Regions from separate parts of the Homo sapiens genome. Here region 2 is linked to region 1. The links are contacts of gene promoters, found by promoter capture Hi-C in blood cells and fetal thymus (Javierre and others, 2016). All regions are on one chromosome and are shown on one strand. Each heading gives the region's core, a stretch centred on a gene start or on the middle of the fragment in contact. The rest is flanking DNA. Distances are from core to core; before and after follow the strand shown. Region 1 holds the start of IGF1 (insulin like growth factor 1). Region 2 overlaps PARPBP (PARP1 binding protein).

Region 1 (2,700 bases), core at 125-2,624:
CCAAACAAAGCAGGTTTGTTTGTTTTTTGTTAGGGCACCCACTTCTACAAACAAATTTCTGGCCCCAGGATAACACAAAGAGCCAGAGTAGGATTTCAAGCAGAACTGTGTTTTCAGTTGATGTGTCAGTCCCCTGAGAGTCATGTGGAAAAAAAAAAAAAGAAAAAATTCAAGGTCCAGGTTATTTCCACCACTCCTGGGAAACCAGGCCTGGAGAGCTCTCTAGGGAAAGAGGTATGTCTGCTCTGGGCTTTTGCAACCTTATTTTATAATTCACTTTCTTATCTACTGCTTCACAAAACCAAAGGGAAATAGGTACAAACTGTATCGACAAAAGATCAGAACTGAATTCTCAATGGCAAAGGCAAGTGTACATTATAAATAGCAAAACAGCTGGCTTGGACCATGTTGCCGGCCAGTCACCCAGTTGAGGGATTTGAATGACATCATAACCCTCGAGAGGGTATTGCTAGCCAGCTGGTGTTATTTAGAATACACAAAAATCAGAGAAAGAAAACACACTCTGGCACACAGACTCCCTCTGTCATACACACACACACACACACACACACACACACACACACACACAGGTTTGAGTTATATGGAAAATTCAAACAACAGGAAAATTGTTTGCCCCCCAGGTACCCTTCTCCCAGAGTGGTGGGGTGGGGAGGGGACAGTGACAGGCAGCCTAGTAGAAGAATAAAGAAAAATGTTCTATTTCAGTTGGGTTTTACAGCTCGGCATAGTCTTTGCCTCATCGCAGGAGAAAAAGTATGAGACAGTGCCCTAAAGGGACCAATCCAATGCTGCCTGCCCCTCCATAGGTTCTAGGAAATGAGATCACACCTCTCACTTGGCAACTGGGACAAGGGGTCACCCGAGTGCTGTCTTCCAATCTACTTTACCCCAGTCACTTCAGGGTTAAAATTGTAGAGTTTGCTGGAGAGGGTCTTATCGTCCTTTCTTTCTTTTTTTGTTTTAAATAATGCATTTGCTCTAGAATCTAAAATTGCTCTCCCATCCCCCATATTCCTTTAATACTGGTAAGGTGTATTAGCAGACGTTTGTGTCTTCATGCCCAGCAGAAAGTTAATCAGAAAACAGATCCTTATTTTCTATGGCAGCATAAGTATTTTAATGTCTGCGAACCCTGTCACTAACACACATTCTTTTAAGGGAAAAAAATGCTTCTGTGCTCTAGTTTTAAAATGCAAAGGTATGATGTTATTTGTCACCATGCCCAAAAAAGTCCTTACTCAATAACTTTGCCAGAAGAGGGAGAGAGAGAGAAGGCAAATGTTCCCCCAGCTGTTTCCTGTCTACAGTGTCTGTGTTTTGTAGATAAATGTGAGGATTTTCTCTAAATCCCTCTTCTGTTTGCTAAATCTCACTGTCACTGCTAAATTCAGAGCAGATAGAGCCTGCGCAATGGAATAAAGTCCTCAAAATTGAAATGTGACATTGCTCTCAACATCTCCCATCTCTCTGGATTTCTTTTTGCTTCATTATTCCTGCTAACCAATTCATTTTCAGACTTTGTACTTCAGAAGCAATGGGAAAAATCAGCAGTCTTCCAACCCAATTATTTAAGTGCTGCTTTTGTGATTTCTTGAAGGTAAATATTTCTTACTCTTTGAAGTCATTGGGGAATTCTATTTAAATTGTGTACTGTTTGCTTCTGCCTAGAACTGTTCTTCACTTTAAAATTTTCATTGTTTCGGAACCGAGAGTTATTTATAAATTGCTGAATATGCAATTCTGTGGAATCTGAAAAATAGCTCGGGGAGATGGATGCATTTGCACAGATATCTGTATGAGTAGAAACTATTGCAAGGTACTTATGCTAAATCCTCCACTTCTGCAGGGCTTCCGTGGTGTCATTACAGAAGATTCCTTTAAATCCTCTCTATGGCTAAGGGCTATAGAGCATGGATATGAACTTGGGGATTTTTTTTTTCTTTTGCAGGTGCAGATGTTTTATTTTTAAGACCATGTTCTTTTGCATGTGTGTATGTGTCTCTGTGTGTATGTGTCTCTGTGTGTGTAACTCATCAGGACTTTATTTACAAGGCATGCTATATATGAAGGGTTGTATTTTAGATGATATTAAAGCTTTTAAATATGATCTTTGGAGCTAAGGTCCCGGAACTCTGCACTTATGCCCAGAGAGAGTGTTAAAGTTAGAGTAAAGTGTAATTTGTTCTTCCAAAAAAGAACTCCTTGACAACTCTTGCTGACCTTGCATATTTGTATAATTTAAACAAATACATACTGTATATGGAAAGCAGAAACTTTCTAAGAGCTGCTTGCCCAACTTTTCTGTTTAGAAGAGGACTTTCATGGGCAAAGTTTGGACTTGGGGTTCTGTGTTATAAAACTCTGATTTTATATTCAGTGTCGTGAAGTCCCTTTAGGTAAATCTGGCTGCTGCTGTCAGTGCACCGACTTCTCGTTTCCGATTGCTGGCCGTAGTTCTAGTTTCCATTCTCAGCAAAATTATATCCTTCAAGACTTGTGTTTTTTTTTCAATTTGCAAGCGCTTTTAAGCTGCTGTCACTGGCTCCACCGATTCAATTGCCTGAGGGCTCAATTCATAAGACGTCTCTGCCACTTAGTGCAGCATTCAGTTGCTGCTTTCAAACACTTCACCACTACGACTTTCCCTAGTCAAGTAAGTGGCTCCAGGAGTTAAAGATA
Region 2 (2,700 bases), core at 58-2,557, 310 kb after region 1:
ATTATGGCTATTCTGGATAAACATTAATAGGAGAATTTAGATGAGAAAGAGGCAAACTGAGCTCCTGACTCCTAACTGCATCACACCAGTGCCCTGGGGCAGAAAGAGAAACAAGAGGCTGCTGATGAAAAGCACAACTGAATCCCCAAGCTTGTACCAAAATAAAGTAACTGGAAGAGAACACTAAGCAATAATACAGACAAATGATTGGTAATACTTTAATGTAATTACTGAGTTCTTCACTTTCCTAAATAAAGTGACTGCTTTTCCATACCATACTCAAGAATTTGATAACTATTTGTTGAAGTAAATTTTACCTTTAAAAATTAAATGTAATTAAAGGTGCCACATAAAATATATGAAAAATATTTCTGAATTTTTTTTTTTTTTTGAGGCGGAGTCTCGTTCTGTTGCCCAGGCTGGACAGCAGTGGCGCGATCTCGGCTCACTGCAAGCTCCGCCTCCCGGGTTCACGCCATTCTCCTGCCTCAGCCTCCCGAGTAGCTGGGACTACAGGCGCCCGCCACCACCACACCTGGCTAATTTTTTGTATTTTTAGTAGAGACGGGGTTTCACCGTGTTAGCCAGGATGGTCTCGATCTCCTGACCTCGTGATCCGCCCGCCTCGGCCTCCCAAAGTGTTGAGATTACAGGTGTGAGCCACCAAGCCCGGCCATGAAATATTTTTAAACAAGAAAAACTTTAACATTAGGAGATTAGACTGAAAAATTTCAGTGAGATTTAACACTCCAAACATGTATATTTAGCCCAACATAAATAGTTATGTGCTGTATAATAACATTACAGTCAGCAACAGACCACATATATGATGGTAGTCCCATAATATTATAATGGAGCTGAAAAATTCCTATTGCCTAGTGATGTAACATCGTAGCATCATAGCTCAACACATCACTCACATGTTTGTGGTGATGCTTGTGTAAACAAACCTACTGTGCTGCCAGTAATATAATAGTATAGTGCACATAATTATGTTTAATACATAATACTTGGTCATTATAATAAATGACTCTTACTGGTTTATGTGTTTGCTATACCTTTTATCATTATTTTAGAGTGTACTCCTTCTACTTATTTAAAAAAAAAAAAAGCACTAACTGAAATAGTCTCAGGCAGGTCCTTCAGGAGGTATTCCTGAAGAAGGTGTTGTGACTGTAGGAGATGACACCTCCAGGGGTATTACTGCTCCTGAAGATTTTCCAGTGGGACAAGATGTGGAGGTGGAAGACAGTCATATTGATAATCCTGACCCTGTGTAGACCTAGGCTAATGTTTATGTTTGTGTCTTAATTTTAAACAAAAAAGTTTAAAAAGCAAAAAAAAAAAAAAAAAAGAAAAATTAAACAGAGAAAAGCATATAGAATAAGGATACAGAGAAAAAAATTCTGTACAGCTGTACAATGTATTTGTGTTTTAAGCTAAGTGTTACTACAAGACTCAAAAAGTTTCAAAATTTTAAAAAATTCATAGTCAAATTTTAAAGTTCATAAAGTTAGAGCAAGCTAAGTGTAATTTATTCTTGAAGAAAGAAATATTTGCTCTATAAATTTAGTGTGGCCTAGGTTTATAATGTGTATAAAGTCTACAAGAGTTTACAATAATGTTCCAGGCCTTCATATTCACTCACCACTCATCCAGAGCAACTTCAAGTGCTGCAAACTCCAGTCATGGCAAGTACCCTATGCTTATCTATGTTTATGTTTTATACTGCATTCTGAACAGGACCTTTTCAATGTTTAGATATGCTTAGCCACACAAATACCATTGTGTTACAATTGCCTACAGTATTTGATACAGTAACAGGCCATACAGGTTTGTAGCCTAGCAGCAATAGGCTATGCCATATAGCCTATGTGTGTGGCAGGCTACACCATCCAGGTTTGTGTATGTACAGTCTATGATGTTTGTACAGTGATGAAATTGCCTAACAATGCATTTCTGAGAGCATATTCTCATCAAGTGGCGCATGACAGTATAATGTAAATGTGCATTAAAAAGTTGTGTGATAAATGTGAAATACAGAATTTTCAACTTCTGAACAACAGGGAACTATTAATTGATACAACTTGAAACATCTCATTTAAGACATCTTTCAGGTGAAAGTACACTATGCATTTTATGGTGTCACCTACTGGCAAAGTGTAGAAATGCAGCCACCTATAGCTAAGATGGCCTCATGAAAAGTGGGCAGTGGGGCGATGAGTGTTCTTTATTTCTTCCCAGTCTGTCTATTCCACCCTTCCTTGGACTCAAACATTACTGTAATTTTTCTATTTAAAAATAAGTAGTATAAACTTTTCCTCAGATACAAGAGCTAAATACATTTTTATTTCTAAGTTTTAAGGTTGACAGAGACGAGGAGGATAAAGAGGTCAGAGTGAGAGATGGGCAGGAGTTAGAGCATAGACAGTTTTGTGTATCATATTGAGGTTCCTGAAGCTTTACCCTGTACCAAATATGGAATCACTGAAAAGTTTTAATTATGGGAGTAACATTTGTTGTTTCAGAAAAATCACTCTGGCAGCAATGAGGACGACAGGATAGGGCAACTTAAGACTGGAGGCAGAATAGACAACTCAGTGACACGTGAAAAGGTCCAGACAAGAAAGGATGAAAGTCTGAAACAGTAAACACTGGAAATAAAATAGTAGCTATAGGAAGAGATGAGGAGAAAGAACA

What was found. The method cuts DNA at HindIII sites, captures the fragments that hold promoters and counts their contacts. A CHiCAGO score of 5 or more calls a contact.
Region 2: a fragment that was not itself captured here is called in contact with the fragment with the promoter of IGF1 in region 1 in 5 of 17 cell types (endothelial precursors, megakaryocytes, total CD8 T cells and 2 more); the score reaches 17.7 in endothelial precursors.

The regions. Positions count from the first base shown.
Region 1 is chr12:102,479,237-102,481,936 of GRCh38, reverse strand. It overlaps IGF1 (insulin like growth factor 1), which reads left to right and starts at 1,374. Exons shown (of 4, transcript NM_000618.5): 1 at 1,374-1,618. The coding sequence starts at 1,556. It overlaps LINC02456 (long intergenic non-protein coding RNA 2456), which reads right to left. Exons shown (of 13, transcript XR_007063427.1): 11 at 1-2,700. RefSeq lists enhancers at 2,519-2,568, 2,659-2,700. The HindIII fragment of the contact is 6,669 bases long and covers 1-2,117 here.
Region 2 is chr12:102,169,560-102,172,259 of GRCh38, reverse strand. All of the region lies in intron 6 of PARPBP (PARP1 binding protein), which reads right to left. Among named protein-coding and RNA genes, the nearest start is that of PMCH, 27 kb to the left of the region's middle. The HindIII fragment of the contact is 2,310 bases long and covers 153-2,462 here.